Linked DNA regions of Homo sapiens: regions 2, 3, 4, 5 and 6 are each linked to region 1. Evidence: promoter capture Hi-C in 16 types of primary human blood cells and fetal thymus (Javierre and others, 2016). All regions are on one chromosome and are shown on one strand. The core of a region is centred on a gene start or on the middle of the fragment in contact, and the rest is flanking DNA. Distances in the headings are between cores, read along the strand shown.

Region 1 (3,382 bases), core at 470-2,969:
AGTGCATCTCCGTGTAAAAACAGCTATGTTTGGAAGATCTAAAACGCAGCTTTTGTTTTTGAGAAGCCAACAATCTAATAGGGTAGGATCATATATATGTACAACTAACCGTAATGCATGGTGTTTTGAAAAATGCACGTATCTCCCTGAATTACCCCTAGTTAATAAAATAATTGGGAGCAAATGGTAATATAAGGATTTTGGAGTAACTTAATACTACTAGATTTTGCTGTTTATACATTTACAAAAAACTTTCTGCTAATGCTAAAGAAATAGAACAAGTCTATATGCATAAAGGAAGGTAGGGCTAATTTACTTCCTGGTGCTATGAAACTGGCAATTGGACAGGTGCAATTGTGGGTGTCTTTTTTTTTTTAAGGTGTACCTGTTGCAGGTTTGAAAAGCTGTTGATGCTCATGGGTTGTTTGTGTGCATGTTCTCTTTAAAAACCAGATGTATTCATTCCCTTTTTTTTTTTTTTTTTTTTTGAGACGGAGTCTCGCTCTATAGCCCAGGCTGGAGTGCAGTGGCCCGATCTCGGCTCACTGCAAACTCCGCCTCCTGGGTTCACGCCATTCTTCTGCCTCAGCCTACCGAGTAGCTGGGACTATAGGCGCCTGCCACCGCGCCCGGCTAATTTTTTGTAGTTTTAGTAGAGACGGGGTTTCACCGGGTTAGCCAAGATGGTCTCGATCTCCTGACCTCGTGATCCGCCCGCCTCGGCCTCCCAAAGTGCTGGGATTGCAGGCGTGAGCCACCGCGCCCGGCCATTCCCATTGTTATGTATACTTTGCTATTTGCTGCTGGTGAGACAGATAAGGAGTCACGTCTTTAACTGCACTTGAGTTTCCAGTGACCCCATTAAATCCAATGGGTAAATTTTCCCACGCAGATTACTCACCCAGTTTACAGATTAAGCTTTCATATCCTTAGACTGTATCTGAAATTTTCATAGCTTTGCCCACCTTTTAGGGTTCAGAGTTACTACCCATTCAGTGTCGGTGGCCTTTAGCTGTTGGCAAGCTTCCAAGTAAATAGCTCTTTTGCAGAGATCTCTACCCATTCTATTCTTCCACTCCTGGGTAGTGGAGAACCAAAGTTCACCTGAGTAATGCCCGTGCCCAGCACCCAGTTTCCTGCAGGGGTTAGCACGGATATTGGAGGCTCCCCCGATCCCACAGATACTCAGGATGGGTATTGGAGGGGGCTTGGTTTTTAAGAGGACATGTGAAAGTAATTAACCCGATTTACATTTGTATAATGAGTCCAAACACCACCTTGCAAAAGAACTGAGAGTTTAGCCTGCTTAATGGAGTTTCTGCTTTTCACGGTCCTTGGCCTTACCGACGGTTTACAGTCCAGCCAGATTTAGTTCACAAAAAACCAAAACCAGGTCGACCTCACTGCAGTATATGATGGCAGCGAGCGTTTTAAAGCGCAGGACCTTTAGTCTCCTCAATAGTTTTGTGTAAAGTTGTCCAAAAGTGTTTTTTTTTAAAGTGAGGTGATCCAGTCGGTAAACGCTTTGAAAAAGAATAGCTGTCCCCTGAGCGGGCATTAGTCGCGTGTGAGGTCAGGGCCCATCATTGCGCGTGTTGGGAGCGCCGCGCTGGTCTATGAGCGAGCGCCTCGGCTTGTGGCTGGGCCGGGCCGGGGCGGGGCTGTCTTCCCGCGGAGCGTGCTGGGGGCGGGTCGCGCCGGGCCGGGCCGCTAGTGCGCATGGGCGGGCGTCCTCGGCTCTAACTGCCGCCACTTTCCACACGCTGGGAGGGCCGTTACCTCAGAGATACCCGTGGCCGGCATGTTGGTTGAAAAAGCTTCCCGGAAGGGAGACGAAGAGAAAGGAGAGGAGCAGCTCGTGATCATCCCCGGTAGCGAGTACGCGGCGAAGTAGGCGGCGGCGGAGGGAGCGCTGATGAAGATGGATGTGTCAGTGAGGGCCGCGGGCTGCTCCGACGACCTCAGCTCTGGGGAGGCCGACGTAGACCCAAAGCTCCTGGAGCTCACCGCTGACGAGGAGAAGTGCCGCAGCATCCGCAGGCAGTACCGGCAGCTCATGTACTGCGTGCGGCAGAACCGGGAGGACATCGTGAGCTCGGCGAACAACTCCTTAACCGAGGCTCTGGAGGAAGCCAACGTCCTCTTTGATGGCGTGAGCCGAACCAGAGAAGCAGCCCTCGACGCCCGGTTTCTTGTTATGGCTTCTGATTTGGGTAAAGAAAAGGCAAAGCAGTTAAACTCAGATATGAACTTCTTTAATCAGTTAGCATTTTGTGACTTTCTGTTTCTGTTCGTGGGTCTGAATTGGATGGAAGGCGATCCTGACAAGTTGAGTGATTGTGATGATAGCATAGCTCTTTCCTTCTGGAAGGCAATAGAAAAGGAAGCAACATCCTGGATGGTAAAAGCTGAGACATTCCATTTTGTTTTTGGTTCATTCAAGCTAGAACGTTCTGCACCAAAGCCCCGACTTGAACACCAGAAAAAAGTTCGCAAGATGGAAGAAAATGGCAACATGCCTACAAAGTTGCAGAAGTTGGACCTGAGTAGTTATCCAGAAGCGACAGAAAAAAACGTAGAAAGGATTTTGGGATTGTTGCAAACCTACTTTCGAAAGTATCCTGATACTCCTGTGTCCTATTTTGAGTTTGTGATTGATCCAAACTCTTTTTCTCGTACTGTGGAGAATATATTTTATGTTTCTTTTATTGTAAGAGATGGTTTTGCAAGAATAAGGCTTGATGAAGACAGGCTGCCAATATTAGAGCCGATGAATGTTAACCAAATGGGTGAGGGAAATGATTCCAGTTGCCATGGCAGGAAACAGGGAGTTATATCTTTGACTTTACAGGAGTGGAAAAACATTGTGGCAGCTTTTGAAATTTCTGAGGCTATGATTACATACTCCTCATACTAAAGATTTCTTAGTATAGCATCCTTTTTGTGTTTTTTTTCTGAAGTTAGATGGAGAGTAAAATGTAAACTGAAGCACATATTGTATCTCTTGTAAAGTGAAAAAGTATTTTCAAGAACATCAGACATTGTTTTACTGTGCAGCATATTTTTCTTAGTAATTTATAAGGTCATGATCTTCTGTTATTAAAACAAATTCACTGGCATATTTATGGGAACGTTTTATTGAATGCCCTTTAAGACTATTAATAAAAACAAGTTTTGGATACCAAATTAAGGGATATTTGATAATTTGCAAAACATAATAATTTACGAAAATCAGTGATGATGCTCTGTGATGCGTTGCTTTCTCTGTCATAGGGAACCAAGAGAATCCCAGAAAGGGTTCCTAACCAGGTTGGGCAAAGAGTGGGTAAAAAACAAAAGTTAAAAAAAAAAACCTGTCTGTAAGGCAGTGAATATGCAACAT
Region 2 (3,382 bases), core at 371-2,870, 870 kb after region 1:
TAACGAAAGAAACAGAATATTTTTTATTGCTAGGTTAATTTATTACAAAGATAATAATAGTCTGTTGAACTTAGTTACAGTTAAACACACTGTACCGATTCAAAATCATTATACTAGTTTGATAGGGAGGAGGGATGGGGGAGTGGGCTGGGGTTCCAGGAATTGGAAGTATCAGGGTGGAAATAGGAACTTTATACCAAGCCCCATGACCAGCTGTGCTTCAAGTGAGTTTTAAAATTAATTGGTCCCTTCCCTGAAGAGGGTCTGGCTCAGAAGAAACAGGAACTGGTAGAGCTGCACCCTGTCCACAGTGATCCACTACTAAAAATACTCATACCTAGGAGGACCTTAAACTTCTGAATGCTGGTTCAGTAAGGCTCCACTGTAAAATCAAACATCTTTTGTGGTATTCATTTTTTTATTGCTTGATGTCTGGAACAGTTACCGAAACTAGACCTGTATCGCGCATCTCTACTAGTGCTTGGGCCTCAAAGCAGTGCTCATCACCTAACTGCACAAAGAAATGCTATTAGGTCCAATTATGAGATAAGCTGAATTATAAATACACAATTTTCAGAACGACAGGCACTTAAAGCTCATTAAGTAAAATACAAAAATAGATTATATTAATAAGAAATATTTAGTGTTCATCAAATTGTAAATCTAGGCTTTTGCCATTTTTTAAAAAGGATACTGGAAACTGAAAAGAGATGACATTCATATGAACAATGCATTTTTCAAACTTTTGTTCTGAGCGCTGAACAATCTAAGAAATTTTAGCGCAATCTAAGAAAAAAGACTTACCACAAAGCACCTAAAATAACATTGTAGATGGGTGGGAACGCTGTCAACCATTTCTTAGTTTCCCTCCCAAGTCTCAGTATCAAGGCATCAAGATTACATTCCACAAACGATTGTCAGCCTTCGGAAATCAGGTCAGTGTGCCTGTATGTCAGAGACGTTAAAACCCTTAGGAGGTAGCTCTCCTTCCTGTTTGCTCTTCCCCCACAGGCGCAAGTGAGTTATGCTTCGGATTCTGCGCCTCTATGTTCGTTTGGATTTCCATCATCGTCATCTGGTTGATCGTTTAACAGTACATATTTTCCGTCATTGGTTAGTGGTATGGACAGCATTAATTGAGCCAGTGCTTCTGGATCCTGAAGTTAGGAGAGTTTAAAAGGGAAAAAAGAAAAGGCTTAAGATGCATTTAAACCCCTTTGGCCTGGCTTTCAATATGTTCTGTAATCTAGTCTTGTTTCTCCTGACTCTTGTGTATATGTGCCTTCCGCTGAGTCTCCTTGCTTCTCAAACTCAGGCATGTCACTTCTAGAATCTAGACTGTTTTCCTCTGAGCCAAAATATTGTTTACGTAGTCAATTCGTATCATCTTCCCAAAGATTCCACAGAGGAACTTCCTTCACAGAACTTTTGTCTTCTCTATCTTTAAACTCCTTCTTTTCTCACGTTTAATCTATACCAGAAGTTGGCAAACTATGGTCATTTGGCTAACCATTTGATTTTTATTGGAAAACAGCTGCGGCCATTTATTTACATACTGTCCATGCTGCTGCTGCTTTTTTTTGGTGGGGGGGGGGGTGGTGCGGCGGTTGGAGACAGAGTCTCGCTCTATCGCCCAGGCTGGAGAGCAGTGGTATGATCTCAGCTCACTGCAACCTTCGCCTCCCCGGTTCAAACGATTCTTGTGCCTCAGTCTCCCGAGTAGCTGGGACTACAGGTGTGCACCACCACACCCGGCTAATTTTTGTATTTTTAGTAGAGATGGGGTTTCACCATGTTGGCCAGGCTGGTCTTGAACTCCTGACCTCAGGTGATCCTCCTGCCTCTGCCTCCCAAAGTGCTGGGATTACAGGCATAAGCCACCATGCCTGGCCTGCTTTTGTCTTATGATAGCAGAGTTGAATCTGTTGCAAGGGAGATAGCCAAAAACATAAAGACCCTTTATAGAAAAAGTTTGCCAACTTTTGACCAATACCATTAAATACTAGCTTACAGTGCTTGCCACTATTTCATGTATGTGGCCTTAGTCCTTGGTCTTTCTGACCTCTCCAAGACTGAACTGCACTAATATGGTAGCCACTGGCTACATGTTACTATGTAAATTTGAGTTAAATTTAAAAATCCAGTTCCTCAGTCACACTTGCCATATTCAATCTGCATATTAAATTGTGCAGATATAAATCATTTCCATTATTGCAGAAAGTTCTGTACATTGCTGAACTAGAAGCCCCCTGGGGGCAGGGACTATATCTGTCTTGTTCAATTACACAAACTAGGCTCTCAAAAATTTGCTGAATGAACAAAAGATTAAAAGCTGCTGAAAGACAGGGAGGTCTCAGAATCCTCATTTCTTAAAAGCTCCCAGGTGACGTCTGTCAATGCTGTGGGGCATGTGATCATACTCTGAGGAGCAAGGCCTTAGAGCAGCACACGGTGGGTACTTATCTATCATCTTAATCTGAAAGAGGAAATCTAGCCAACTAGTATGCAAGCAAGAAAACAGATAAGCAGGAGCTCCAGCAGTGATAAGAAGTCCTCATGTGTTAACAGTGAACATGGAACTAGCTGATCAAAAACCTCTGGTGGTTAGAATACTTTTAAAAGGAAATCCCAAACTTGGCCACACTTTCCAGTGAACATCACTTTTCTTTTTGAAAAGACTCTTGGTATGTGTACACAGATGTGTTTTGAGTAGCTACTAAACCAGCGCTAGAATGCATCTTACCTTCTGAACCTCAATAATTTCTTTTCCCAAATTAATAGCATAACATATCTGCAAAAGACAAGAAAAGTAGTGATTGGCAAAAGTAGAGAAGGATAAAATTTTAGAACAAATGTGATTTGGGAGTACAGTGAGGTCACTGTTCTCACTGTTCCCACTTGGGAACACAGGACCTGGCTGCAGGAGACTCATCACATAGGGCCCGGGGCATTTGCGTCCAACTGTCCTGACCTCTGTTGCCAATTTATGCCACACAAAAAATATTCCAGGTAAGTGAAACTCAGGTAATTCCAGTGTTAAAAGTTCTTAATAGGAATTTTTCTTCTCTCTCTTAAATGTATTTAGCCACGATATGTCCATATACACAGTGGCAAACAGATAATTTACTGAAAGGATTGGTTAATTGTGATAAATTCTAAGTAGCAGATAGAGTCAAAAGTTTTTCATACTAAACCAACAGCTTGTGTGTAACTTTTCTAATATCTTCCTTGGTTTTCTCTCTGAGACTAAATTATTCTCTATTGTAGCTTTTGCCTTAATTTTTTTTAAAGAACAAATTTGAGGGGAACTGCTTTCAACATTTCCTTATATCCCGACTAAATAATATGTCTTGCCATGAAATTTCTTCCTCATTCACCCTAT
Region 3 (3,382 bases), core at 500-2,999, 760 kb after region 1:
GAAGCATTCTGGCTTCAGATCCTGCACTCTTAACCATTACACTAAACTCCCTCCCTTGGTCACCCATCGAGCCCATGGATTTTTATTGGCACTTAGTATGTACCCAGACTCCTGCTTAACTGCTGAGATTATCAAGACAATCACATGAAGCCCTTGCCCCTAAGGAGTTCACAGTCTAGTGTTGGGGGGAATAAAGAGACCCTCACAATATATGATGTGCGATGCCAGAGGTAGGCAGAGTGTTGCTGGAACCCAGAGATGGGCCATCAGACCCTGCCAGTCTGGGCATGTGAGATCAGGAAACCTCCCCGAAGAGGTGAAACCTGAGAGCCTGGGCTGAGTCAATTACCCATGGATAGAAGACCCTTCAGGCCCTGCCCGCCTCTCCCGCCTCAGCTCTCCCCATGCCTGTCCTCACAGTTCAGACCCTGGCTTCACTGAACTCCTTTTGCAAGTCCTTGACCAGGTGCTGGAGTCTCTTATCTCTGGGGCTTCACCTACTTGTCTTGCTCTCAACCTGGTTAACTCTTCTCGAGCAAAGCAGTGAGCTTTTCTAGGAAGCCTTTCCTAACATGCCTGAGTCTCAGCCTCCATGATAGCGTTTATCTTACTGCACTGAGAATGTTTATTCACTTCTCTGCACTCCCCATAAAACTGCAGGCTCCTTAGATCAGGCGCTGGATTTAGTGTCTGCTGCACAATAAATGCTTAATACATGCTGAGTAAAGGGGAGAGTGAATCACAGACCTGCCTCATGACCAAGGAAGAACCATGGGAAGCCCAGATTTATCTGTAATATCTCTTACAAAGGTAATAATCGGGGAGGGGGGTGGGGGGAGTGGTCCCTAAAACATACCTGTCCATTTATCTCTGTCCAAGCTCCAGGGACTTTATCATGACCTCGAATCCAGTTATGTAAAACTTCGGCAGACTGGTCCCAAGAAATCTAGGAAGGCACAAAATACAGGCTGAGCCTCCTATGGCTGTGAACCTCAAAGGCAATAAAAACGCTTCTCGTCATCAGAGGCAGAAACACTTGTTATTGGGAAATAAAGGAATTTTTGCTTCTTAGTTTTATTTGGAGTAAGTATTTTGTCAGGTGGCTGATTTAGTAAACAAGAGACTTTATTAAAGGAAAATAAAAAGCAGAGGGTTATTTAAAGGGACAGTATGCTTTGTAAAGATGAAGTAGAGCGGGCTGTTGAGGGGAGTAGGCCAGTAGCTGTTGGAGAGTTTTATGTTGGGTTTTTATTAGGTTGAACTTTTTTTTGAAGTTCCCACCTCTGTTAAGTCTCTGCCTCTTTTTTTTTTTGTCTAGTTTGTTTGTGTCTGTCTTAGCTCTCTGCTTTGTCCGCACCTAGATTTTGTCTCAGGTTTATGGGACCCTCCATATTATTAGTTGGTGTGTATGTGTGGATTGGTGTTGGATATGAATATTACCTGATGCCTGTGTTGTTTACTATTGTCACTGCAGGGAGGTTGTATAGTGGCCAAATCTATACCTACTGCATCTGTGTGTTTTTTTGGAATTTCCTTCTCTGCCCTAAGCTGAACTTATGGCTCCAGGTTTTTGTTTTTTGTTTTTTGAGACAGGGGTCTCACTGTGTTGGCCAGGCTGGTCTCGAATGCCTGGTCTCAAGTGATCCTCCTCCCTCAGCCTCCCAAAGTGCTGGGATTACAGGCATGAGCCACTGTGCCCAGCGCACCTAGCATGCCAGATTTTTTAAGGAATATCCCCTTTGCCCTTTTCATTAGCATGTAGCTAGTGATATTTTGACATTTTAACTGCAGAGCGAAGGATTGTTGGGCAGACTGAAGAGGCGTTTCTGGGCATTTTTTATTTGCTTGTTTGTTTGTTTGTTTGCATAGTATCTCCTCTCCTTTCTATGCACATTTGACTAAGTGCCCACCCACTCCAGCATTAGAGATACTATTAATATGCAAATTTTGAGTGGTCTTCCAGACACGAGTCTTCCTAGACTTTATTTTCTTTAGGGGACTCCCCTCTCCTGCGTATGTCTGGCTACCTGTCTACTCTAACAGGTAGGGCTAGGGCAAGCTGGCTTACCTTTTGGCAAGATCATAGTATGTGGGGAACTACTGAAGGGTAGAGGGCCATGAACTCTGAGACGTGTTATTGAGTTGATATATAAATACCTCAGCATTTTCCTTTTTCTGGATACCTTCATATGTTGCCCCTTCTTCTGGCTGGGGTATACGAGGAGCTTTTCCATCAGCTATGAGTTGGACAGCTTCTACCTAAGGCCAAAGACATCACCTGTGTTACAGCCCAATGATCAACAATGGCATGGTCTATTTGACTAAAGTTTCTGCATAACAGAATTACTACCTATAAACCTGTTCAGAGAGTCAAGAGTATGATGATAACTACCATTTCTTCAGGTCCATCCTGACAAGCAGTGTGGTAGCTACTTTATGTAAAATATCCCTTGAAAACATAACACAAATCCTGCAAGGTGTATATTGTTATTCCTGTTTTACACCTGAGGAAACTGACAGAAAAAGAGCTAAGCAAGGCCGGGCGCAGTGGCTCACGCCTGTAATCCCAGCACTTTGGGAGGCCAAGGCAGGCGGATCACGAAGTCAGGAGATCGAGGCCACGGTGAAACCCCGTCTCTACTAAAAATACAAAAAATCAGCCGGGCGTGGTGGTGGGCGCCTGTAGTCCCAGCTACTCAGGAGGCTGAGGCAGGAGAATGGCGTGAACCCGGGAGGCAGAGCTTGCAGTGAGCCGAGATCACACCACTGCACTCCAGCCTGGGCGACAGAGCGAGACTCTGTCTCAAAAAAAAAAAAAAAAAAAAGAAAAGAAAAAGAAAAAGAGCTAAGCAATTGGCTGAAGATCACAGAGAGAGCTTGTAGGTGTCAGAAACAGGATTTGTATCCAGGTCTATCTATTGCCAATCGAAGTCTGCACTCTCAAAAATGACTCCCTTGTTTAAACAAACTGCCACCTCCCTTAGTGATTCACTGGAAATGATAGGAATATAATGATAAAATAAGTCTTTATGAGTTATTTTACTCATCATGATGATTCTAAAAAATGATACCTTACTGTATTTAATGAATTCAACTTGCTTTCTAGTTTAGGAGACCTGGAATAAAAAAAGTTAAAATCTATCCATGAGCTTGATTGCCTTTGGGAGGTGTCCTGCATTTTCTTCTCTGTTATATTTACGTTTGCCTTGAGTCGAGAGCCTCCCATTTTCACTGCGAGGCCCACGTGAGTTCAAGTTCTCAGATTTCTCTCTAAGGACTCACAGCTGCTGACCAACCCACCCAAGAGCACACGGAGGGAGCCACAGGGGAACAGAGCCAAGTTTACAGCTCATTCCACCCACCTCCATCTAGGCTATAACTA
Region 4 (3,382 bases), core at 344-2,843, 740 kb after region 1:
GATCACCACTGCACTCCAGCCTGGGTGACAGTGTTAGACCGTGTCTCTTAAAAAAGAAAAAAAGAAAGAAAAAGGAAAAAGTTATTCATAGATAAAACAGATGGTAGAATGGTGATTACCATTGAAGCTGAGTGATGAGTACATAAAATTCATTTTGCTTTTCTGCTTTCTATGTATTAGACATTTTCCATAATAAAAAAATTTCAAAAATGTTGTGGTCAAAAGTTAATTCAAATTCTTTAGAAATTTTGGTTACATAAAAGCCTGGCAAAAGAATTAAACCTCTAACCAGACTACCGAAGCATTGGGAGAAAAAATATCAATTTTTAAAAGTACGCTGCTTATTTTTCCTTTCTTACAAAAGTATTTTTATTTAAAGCATTTTGAAAATACCTACCCCAAAATGCAAACAGAAGAAAAAAATCACAAAATTCCATTCCATGCCTCAGTGACCATTGTTTTTACCATTTTGATATACTACCTATTTGTGATCTGTCCTACCATAGCTTTTGCGTTGTTTAACATAGTTGAGATCATCCAGTGTATACAATGTTATACTTTATTTTTATTTCCATTTATTATTTTAACAACACTTTTCAATGTTATTAAAATTCTCTATGAACATGACTGCACAGTGTTCCATTACATTGACATATTTTAACAACTGCTTTATTTTGGACATTTAGATTGCTTACAGCTTAAAAAAAAATTGCTTTGGCGGACTCCATTTATAAATAATCCAGGTTTGTCATATAAAATATATAAATTTCACATTTATGTATCTTTTTGGTTTTTTACCCATACTCTGAGAACAATTTGGGCCACAGCTTTAATACAGGAAGTCTTTTGTGCTGAATTGTTAAAACTACCAGTAGGGCACAGAATTTCAACATAGCTTTGGTTTTATTGACTCTGGGCTTTAATGCTTTGGAAAGTATTTTATTGTATTCAAATATTTCAATACTCAGCAGTGATAAGTAGATTTCCCTTCCAAAGTTGATGTAGTTTTTCTCACTCAAAAAGTACCCTGTTTAAACAAAAATTGAAACCTAGTTTAACAGGATCTGCAGTGAATCAACATTTTAAAACCAATACCTCTTCATGATCTGTTTGCCAATAGGAGTGGATCCAGTGAAACCAAGTTTGCGGATGTCAGGATGTTCAGACAGACGTTGTCCTGCTATGCCACCTGTAGAATTAGGGAATAAAACGGGAATTAAAACATACTCAAGGCCGGGCGCGGTGGCTTACGCCTGTAATCCCCGCACTTTGGGAGGCTGAGGCAAGCAGATCACAAGGTCAGGAGATCGAGACCCGCCTGACCACCATGGTGAAACCCTGTCACTACTAAAAATATAAAAATTAGCCAGGCATGGTGGCACACGCCTGTAATCCCAGCTACTCAGGAGGCTGAGAGAGAATCACTTGAACCCAGGAGGCGGAGGTTGCAGTGGGCCAAGATCGCGCCTTTGCACTCCAGCCGGGGCAACAGAGTGAGACTCCGTCTCAAAAAAAAAAAAAAAAAAAAAAAAAAACCTTACTCAAATTCTTATAGTGAAGATGGCTTTAAATTCATTGAAGTAGATTTCTAAGCTCTCCTTGACACCTTAGTTTTACATTTTCTGTATTAATTACAAACTGATAAAAGTCTGAAATAATACCCTTTATGAAATTATCAGACTCCCAAAATAATGATGGGTAAGCCTTGATTTTTATCTTCCAGAGTAGTTTTTGAAAATCAAAATGGAACATCTTAGGGTAATTTTACATGACTGTACAACCCCCCTCCCCACTGCCACTCACCCACCACTGTATTTCCATTTTAAGATTTTAGCACATGGTAAGTATATTCATCCTTAACTGTTTGGTGAATTGTATTTAGTTTTAATACAGTTATAATTCAGGACAAGTCTCTAGAGGTAAAAGAGCCACTCAGCTACCCCAGTACCATTCATTAGTTATAGCACAGTCGGTCATTTAGTGGCTTACCTGAGCCTGGAATGATGTTGATGACCCCCTTTGGAAAGCCTGCTTTCACAGACAGTTCTGCAAACTTCAAAGCAGTCAAGGGCGTGACCTGAGGAGAAGCAAACAGCAATTACCTTCTTCAGGCCCTAACCTGACCTTTAGCCCAGAACCCAGTTTTCCCTTGATAGCTGCACTAGATCTCATTTTATTTTTATTGTACATTGTCTTATTTTTTTGCCATAATTTCAGACTTACAAAAAGATGCAAAAATAGTACAAGTATTCCTTATATACATTTCCATTCAGATTCCTCAAATGTTAACATTTTACTGCATTTGCTTTATCTTTCTGTATATATTTTTCTAAACTATTTTTTAAAGATAAATTTAAGGAATATCTGTTTCTGAACTGTTTAAGAATACGGTAAAGACATACCCCATACTTCTAAATACTTCTGTGTGCATTTTCTATAAAACAAGAAATTCTTTTACATAACCATAGTACAATCATCAAAATCAGGAGATTAACAATTGATAGAATACATGATTTGCAGACCATATTCAGATTTCACCAATTATCCCAATAATGTCTTACAGCAAAAGAAAATCCAACATCTGCATTACATTTAGTTCTATCTGTAGTCTCCAGTAATCTAGGAGAATTTCTCAGTTCTCTTTTCTATTTCATTACACTGACATTTTTGAAGAGTACAGGCCAGTTATTTCATACAATGTCTCTTTGTCTGGATTTGTCTGATGTTTTTGCATGGTTAGATTCAAGTTATGCACTTTTGGGAACAATGCCACCGGAGCGATGCTGAGCTTTTCTCAGGACATCAGGAGGCACGTGCTGTAGAATAGTTCCAATACTGGAAAGTTAGTTTTGATTATTTGGCAAATGTGGTCTGCCAACTTTCATCACTGTAAATTACTATTTTATACATTGTAGTTAACAAATATTTTGTGGGGAGATACTCCTCAAATTTTTATCCACTAGTTTTAGTGTCCATGGATAATTTCTGGATAATAATCCTAAAGTATCATGATGGTTGCCAAATGGTGATTTTCCAATTCCCTCATTCCTTTTACGTGTAGTAGTTGGCTCTCTACTCTAAGTGTTTTCCATTCTGTTCAATTAATTAATATCAGTGTGAACACAAAGATTCTTACTGTAATCAGCAGGTTATCATCGTTTACTATTGTTACTGATTTTGATGTTCAATTGTTCTAGATTTGGCTGAGGCAGTCCCTTCAGTACGGCCCCTTATCATTCTGACGTGCCCCTATTACTTTGAGCATTACATTGCTTTCAGGCCCAACAAGATATTTCAGATTCATCTTGATTCTTCCCTACTCCAGCTACTTCTCCAAGGAGCCCAAGTTTCTTTGAGTGAAGAATGGTATTTTAGAAACCAA
Region 5 (3,382 bases), core at 252-2,751, 720 kb after region 1:
CCCTCGCTGGGGACCCATCCTCTTCTGCTCAGAATTTTCCTGCCTCCTGTCCCTATCATTATGATGGGATATGATTCCTGGAACTCCTTTCTCGTGGCCATGAATGGAGCCAGCTCTTGAGGGTAAAGTGAGCACACTACAGATAGCAGACAAGAGCAAAGAACATTATAGAGTCACTGCATCAAATAACTTGTATACTGCACTATTGCTGGGCTCTGTTTTTGGTGGCAGAATAAATTTCCTTATTTTTTTTTCAAAAAAGCCTATCACCTTGTGAGATATGCTTATATTCACTTCACAGCTGAGAAAATTGGCATAGAGATACTAATTGCATAACTTGTAATACACAATGTTGGCAAAGATGTGGGAAAATTGTTGGTGGGATTATTGATTCAGGAATTCCACTTCCAGGTATTTGTTCTAATTACATAAGTGTAGCTTTGGTCATAAATTTTATATAAGATTTTTTGTGACATTTAAAATAGCAAAAAGCAAATCTAAATGTCCGACGATAGACAACATGTTGAATTAAAGCCATTGAAATATGCAGAATTGTGTTTATTGGCATAGATGCTTATGATATATTGTTAATTGAAAAAGCAGGTAACAAATTAATATACAGTATTATGTTAATTATGTAAAAAAAGTATACATATTCATAGAAAAAGTTTGGAACAATCTCAGATATCATCTGTAGGCTATTTCTGTTTGAAAATAACCAAATAGATTTTTGGGTTGACTCAACAAATTATGGTTGAGTCAGTCTTACTTTCCTATTTTATAAATGTTTTTTACATCATTGGGTATTTAATCATTTTAAAAATCTACTCAGGCATCATTTGTATAATAGTAATAATAATTTAATCCCCCTTATTTCTCATGTCTCATGCCTTATCCATCATCCCTCATATCCTACTCTTAGCCCAGATTTTCCTTGACAGCTTTATTTTCTTGGAGGGCAGGTATGGGGAACCAAATTTGTTTCCTTACCCTAGCTCTAGCCATTTCCACAAAAGCTTTTATAGATAATGTCCATTTTGCTTATTATTTTTAGTTTAACCAATACTTAATATGTGCCCACAGCTCACTACCTAGGCCCTGATTTAGGCATTAGGAATAAAAACTATCTCGACTTAGTTAAAACCACCAGATGCATTGCTTGAAAACCTGTTCTGCCACTTAATAGCTGTGTGATTTGAGCAGGTTACTTAACCTCTCCATTTGAAAGCAAACATTTATTGGGCTCCTGTTACACATTAGGACTGGAGATACAGTATTAAAACAAGTACCTGTTCATGAAACTTACATTCTAATGGGAAAAGATCATTGATTAATATACAACAGGTAGTGATAAGTGCTATGAAAATAATGCACTTATAAAAAGAATAAAGAATGACAGCAGATGGGGTATGAATGTGGGGGCATATGGCCTATTTTAGAAAGCATAGTCAGGGAATGTGTCTCTCATCAGATGATATTTGAGGAGAGACCTGCAGGAAGTGAGCCAGCCAGCCATGAGGTTGTGTATGGACAAGAGTTGCAGGAAGAGGCAGTGGTGTGCTGGTGCTGGCTTGCATTTGTTCTGATGGCATGCATCTCTTCCCAAACTCTGTATTCAGTGAAGGCAAATTAGTGGCTCAAAAATAGCCTTGATGAGAGTATTTACACATAGATACCTGCAAATGCTACAAATGAGGGTTTTCTCCCCCGTCCCGGAGAACTATTTGTTAAATATTTTACCAGCACACCCCTGGGAAGAGGAAGAATAAGGACAGAGGCCCTGAGGCAGGAGCAGGCTTGTTCTGTTGAGGAAGTCAAGGCAGTCAGGATGGTGGAACAGAATGAGAGGGAAATTGACAGGAGATGAGGTCAGAGGTAGCTAGGAGCAAGATCAGTAGGCCAGGTAAATACGTTGGACTTTGGTCTACGTGAAATGGGGGCCATTGAAAGGTTTTAAACAGACGAGTGAAGTGACACTGTCTGACTTAAGCTTTGAACAGGACCGCAGAAGAGAGGAATCCAGAAGACCAGTTGGGAGACTTGAGCAAAATTGTAGGAAAGAGGTAACAGGCCAGGTGCAGTGGTTCATGCCTGTAATCCCAGCACTTTGGGAGGCGGAGGCAGGTGGATCACTTGAGGTCAGGAGTTCAAGACCAGCCTGGCCAACATGGCGAAACCCCATCTCTACTTAGCCAGGTGTAGTGGCACACACCTGTAATCCCAGCTACTTGGAAGGCTAAGGCATGACAATCGCTTGAACCCAAGAGGCAGAGGTTGCAGTGAGCCAAGATTGCACCACTGCACTGCAGCCTGGGCAACAAGAGCAAAACTCTGTCTCAAAAAAAAAAAAAAGTAATAATGGCTTAGGGGTAGAGGTAGTAAGAAAAGCACGTTGATTTCTTCATTTTTTTCAGAGATTGTGAAGATTAAATAACATTTAAAACATGCTTAGCCTAAGGTCTTTCATACAGGAGGCCCTTAATAAATGGTAGCTGTCATATCGTATTATTATTGACAGAAGGCCCATACTGGAGTTGGGGAGGGTTGTTCATATCTAATTAAGAAGGCAAGTAATTTTAGTACAAGTGGTAAGTGCTATGTTTGAAACAAGTGGGAACGCTGAGGAGAAACACTTAGCCCAGCTAGGGTAGGAAGGTCCAGGAAGGGTGTTAGAGCAAAAGGGACAGCTTTAGCAAAGGCATGGGGATGGGGAATTAGAAGGAAAGTGGAACTGCTTAAAGTGTCCACACCTCCCGATTCAGGTGATAATAAGATCACAGCTTCATCCTTAGCATTATTAGCAAAATAATCCGTGATCTAAAGCAACAGCGATGATTTTATTACTCTATGTGTTAAGTAAATCACCTAGCAGGCTGGGGAGGGTGATGTTCCAATTCCAGTTCACTTGGTAACTTTATGTATTACACAGAGCCTTTGATTCTGATCAGCCAGATCTAAAAATGTAAGCTGGTAAGAAATGTTTAAAACTTGCTATGGAGAAAGGAGTTCTTAATCTGGGGCCCAAGCATGGCCTTTGGGAGGTCTGTGAACCCTTTGAAGATACTTGCAGAATTGTGTGTGTGCACATGAATTTTGGGGGTAGAAGCGGGACACAGGGAGTGTTCATAGCTTTTATCAGATTCCCAAAGAGTTTTGCAGCCCAGAGAATATTTAAAACACTGCTACTGAGATGAATATTAGAGGGTAAAGTAAAATCAGTCTAGAAGGACAGGCATGTTTTTGTCTGCCATTCCATCTATCATTAAAATAATTTGATTAAATCATATTCTAAATCACATGAAATCAGTTAAAACATTTCACTTAAAAGTGATTACTTATAAAAAGGCTTTTGTCACTTTTATTCAAATATGAACTGTCATTT
Region 6 (3,382 bases), core at 439-2,938, 700 kb after region 1:
CATTTAGAACATCAAGGATTGCTTTCTCTTCCTTTGGGGTTTCAGGGTAATTCTCTTCGGGAACTCAGAGAGGTGTTGGCATTAGTGGAGTTGTTTCCTGGTTTTTACCCATTAGCCCACAAACCCAAACAGTTGCTCTGTTTTTTCTGCTAGAGCATGAGCCTTACCTAAAGCCATTGCAAATTATGGTCCTATGGATTTTCCTGTAAGGAAAAGGAAAGATTAAGACAATAGGAAATAAGGGAAAAAGAAAAGGGACATAGTTATCATGATGACAGAGAAGAGAACTCTTGATCCATGATCAAATTCTTACCACCCATACTGCAGCAAAAGTCTTGAGGGTCTGAACTTTTGCTGCAGTGTGGATGGTAAGAATTTGGTATGGTCCCTTCCATAGGGGTTTGAGGGCAGTGTTTCACTGATGTTGTTTTCAGAAGACCCAATCTCCATGTTCCAGATTGTGAAATGCTTGGTTGTCCTCCATTGATAGATCGTGAAAGGCTTTTTTTTTAACCTGGTGAAAATATACTTTGGCATAATACATTAAGGCCTTGCAGTATTTAGTCATGTCAGTTTACAGGAGCAGGAGATATATGAGGTTTAATTATTAGGGGCATAGGTTTTTCAGTAACTATTTCATAAGAAACTAATTTATTTTGTATTTTCTGTTGGGGTGGATCTAGTTGCCCATAAGGCCAATGGTAATACCTTTGGACGAGGCAATTCAATCAATTCAGTTAACTTTACCAATTTCAGTTTAAAGTTTCATTTGTTCTTTTGAGCTTTCCAGAAGATTAAGGGTGTTAGGGATGATGGTAATACCATTGTGTTCGATTAACTGTTTTAGCTGTTTTATAACTTGTCCAGTGAAACAGGTTCTTCTATTGCTGGAAATTCCTCCAGGGAAGCCCCAGAAGGAAACATACTTTCTAATAACTTATTGTCATAGCATTGGCCTTCCTACATGATAAAGCTTCTATCCGTCTAGAGAACACAAAGACTTTTATAAGAACATATTGTTATCCCATTAAGGGTGGCAATTGATGAAATCCATCTGTAAACATTCAAATGGTCCAGGAGGCAGTAGAAATGTACCACCTAAAATTTGGATTATCTTTCCAGGATTATGAGCTTGATAAACCAAACATTAGTTATAAGCCATTTTAGCAATTTTAGAATAGTCATCCCACCAATATTTTTTCAATTTCTGCCTTTAGAGAGCATAACAGTTCTGGTTCAGGAGAGTCAGGAAACTCTAAGATTATTTGTCCCTCTGAAAGAGAATTTTATATGCCCTTTTGCCTTGGAGAGCAAGTCTTGCCCCAGCAGATTTACTGGGGCAGTATCACATAATTAAAAAGTATGATTTTCTGTAAATGACACCAGTGTCAGTTGGATGGCTTCCAGTATGGGAACCTTTTCAACTTGATTTGAAACCCTACCACAGAAATAATGTTTCCACAGAGTAAACATTTTTACTCTGAGGGATGTATTAGCTTATTAAGGTAGAGTTTATAGTAGATGAAAGTGGCTCTAGTATCCACCAGAATTGTATAAGATTTTTCATTTGTTTTAACTTTTGTTTTTCCATGTTTATTTCTTTTCTTTTTTTAATAGTACTTTGAGTTGCTGTTTATCCATGTTTATTTAAAGGTATTATGGGGAGCAGTTTTCTGGAGAATTCCTTGGATGCTCATCAATGTTGATTATTATCTCTAGAGTTAAGACCTTGTGGACTCATTCTAGTGGGGAAATAGTATGGCCCCAAGGAAGGAGGCTTACTGGTATACTGAAATAAGAATGCAAAATCTCTTTTCCAGCATCCTAGTTGTTTGCAATGAAGGGAGACACCTTAGGGCAAATAATTTCTTGGTCTAAGATCTCTTGGTTTTAGCTTAAAATAAGGGAGAGGAAGTCCCTTTGGTCTTGGTCTTTGTGGTTATTGTAATTAGAGAGACATGAGCTTTTCGACCTTTAGTCTTTTACTTACTCTATTCTCTCAAAATGTTGGGCTAGGGCCACCAATTCAATCATATCTATAACCTCCCATCCTGGTTTGTGTTTTTTATTCAGGTTACTAAGTTCAGGATGAGCTCCATTTACAAATAGAGCAGTTAATCCTGTTTCAGGCACTGCCAGAAGTATCCCTTGGTGTATTGGAACCTGGAATGTTTTACAAATAGTCTTTCTGAATGGACCCTGTAATCTGAAACTGGTTCATTCTATTTTTTGTCTATGAGATTGTATGATGGACCAATCAATTTTTTGTAGCAAAATCTTAGGAATTGAATTTTAAAGGTTTTCAACAATTTTTCTAGGTCTCATTGGCCCTACTCTTGATGAGGTTTTGGGGGAGTCTTTAATATCCTGATTAAGTTTTTCCCATTCTCTTGTCATACATTTTCAAGCTTTGCCATGTCCCAGTATCATATGAATAAATTGGTCAGAGAGTCCTGGCTTGTAAGCTCCTGTGCAAATTCTAAAATCTTCAGTACATTTTTGAGTGTTTTCCCTGGGCTAGGGAAGTCTTTTACCGTGTCTGGAAGCTTAATTTTTGACCATGGAGTAAAGGTGGTTATGGCAGGCAGGCCTGGCTGATCAGAGAATCCCATTTTGTAAGGCATTTGTCTAACTTGCCTTTTCTCATTATCTTTAGAATGAAAGAGTAGTTGAGCAAAAAGGTTATTAGACTCAGAGTATTGAGGTAAAGATGGGTAAAGAGAAAGAACAAAACAGGTTTGAATCAGTCAAGATACAGTCTTTTTTTGTATCATCCTTAAGCTACTTAAGGTTTTCATTTGCCTTCTGTAAGGAATCTTTTACTACCTGTATGTACCAATTTAAAGAATGCATCTCATTGCTTATGAAGCATTTTGGATTCTTTCTTTTGTAGTGTGCCTTGCAAGTGAACAAGTTTATGTAGGTTAAAACTTTCCCACTGTGGGCCACTGGAATTCTAATTTTTTTTGTGTGTGTGTGAGTTTCATTTTTCTAGAAAAGCAACATGCCCTGAGTCTGTAGTTCTTATACACGAAATTGGCTATAGTTCCAGATGGAGGAGTTCTAGACTCCATGGATCCAGATGAACTCATGATTCCCTGTCTTCTTGTGACTTATCATAGGCCTTCTACTGGACCCAGTCTCTGGACCCTGTTTGGTAAAAGAATTGTTCAAGTAAATTTGGAGAGCTCAAAACACAAATCTGTGTAGCTTTAATCTGAAAGGGAAATCACACACAACCTCCAGTTGCTGTGAGAGAGGAATGGTTACAATAGACCCAGCAAATACATTCATTTGGTCACTAGGGTGCTCCTGGGCGGTTGTTGGAAGTCGCCTTTGGACGCCACTTCTGACACCAAAAACTTAATTGTTAAAACCTCTA

The links. The method cuts DNA at HindIII sites, captures the fragments that hold promoters and counts their contacts. A CHiCAGO score of 5 or more calls a contact.
Region 2: a fragment that was not itself captured here is called in contact with the fragment with the promoter of EID3 in region 1 in 2 of 17 cell types (M2 macrophages and total B cells); the score reaches 7.8 in M2 macrophages.
Region 3: a fragment that was not itself captured here is called in contact with the fragment with the promoter of EID3 in region 1 in 2 of 17 cell types (M0 macrophages and naive B cells); the score reaches 5.4 in M0 macrophages.
Region 4: a contact is called between a fragment that was not itself captured here and the fragment with the promoter of EID3 in region 1, in 4 of 17 cell types (total CD4 T cells, monocytes, naive CD8 T cells and 1 more). The highest score is 7.0, in total CD4 T cells.
Region 5: a contact is called between a fragment that was not itself captured here and the fragment with the promoter of EID3 in region 1, in 1 of 17 cell types (M0 macrophages). The highest score is 5.8, in M0 macrophages.
Region 6: a fragment that was not itself captured here is called in contact with the fragment with the promoter of EID3 in region 1 in 2 of 17 cell types (M0 macrophages and naive B cells); the score reaches 5.6 in M0 macrophages.

What each region holds. Positions count from the first base shown.
Region 1 is chr12:104,302,020-104,305,401 of GRCh38, forward strand. It overlaps EID3 (EP300 interacting inhibitor of differentiation 3), which reads left to right and starts at 1,720. Exons shown (of 1, transcript NM_001008394.3): 1 at 1,720-3,186. The coding sequence starts at 1,916. The coding sequence ends at 2,917. All of the region lies in intron 4 of TXNRD1 (thioredoxin reductase 1), which reads left to right. RefSeq lists a silencer at 1,558-1,787 and enhancers at 1,648-2,520, 1,828-2,067, 2,098-2,157. The HindIII fragment of the contact is 794 bases long and covers 1,022-1,815 here.
Region 2 is chr12:105,173,292-105,176,673 of GRCh38, forward strand. APPL2 (adaptor protein, phosphotyrosine interacting with PH domain and leucine zipper 2) reads right to left here. Exons shown (of 21, transcript NM_018171.5): 20 at 2,744-2,791; 21 at 9-1,157. The coding sequence ends at 1,023. Among named protein-coding and RNA genes, the nearest start is that of APPL2, 61 kb to the right of the region's middle. The HindIII fragment of the contact is 7,746 bases long and covers 1-3,382 here.
Region 3 is chr12:105,064,411-105,067,792 of GRCh38, forward strand. ALDH1L2 (aldehyde dehydrogenase 1 family member L2) reads right to left here. Exons shown (of 23, transcript NM_001034173.4): 5 at 2,158-2,259; 6 at 857-946. Among named protein-coding and RNA genes, the nearest start is that of ALDH1L2, 18 kb to the right of the region's middle. The HindIII fragment of the contact is 7,481 bases long and covers 1-3,382 here.
Region 4 is chr12:105,038,618-105,041,999 of GRCh38, forward strand. It overlaps ALDH1L2 (aldehyde dehydrogenase 1 family member L2), which reads right to left. Exons shown (of 23, transcript NM_001034173.4): 16 at 1,990-2,077; 17 at 1,096-1,189. Among named protein-coding and RNA genes, the nearest start is that of ALDH1L2, 44 kb to the right of the region's middle. The HindIII fragment of the contact is 6,154 bases long and covers 1-3,382 here.
Region 5 is chr12:105,019,247-105,022,628 of GRCh38, forward strand. It overlaps ALDH1L2 (aldehyde dehydrogenase 1 family member L2), which reads right to left. Exons shown (of 23, transcript NM_001034173.4): 23 at 544-3,382. Among named protein-coding and RNA genes, the nearest start is that of NOPCHAP1, 35 kb to the left of the region's middle. The HindIII fragment of the contact is 974 bases long and covers 1,015-1,988 here.
Region 6 is chr12:105,000,289-105,003,670 of GRCh38, forward strand. NOPCHAP1 (NOP protein chaperone 1) reads left to right here. Exons shown (of 4, transcript NM_152318.3): 4 at 1-3,382. Among named protein-coding and RNA genes, the nearest start is that of NOPCHAP1, 16 kb to the left of the region's middle. The HindIII fragment of the contact is 1,435 bases long and covers 972-2,406 here.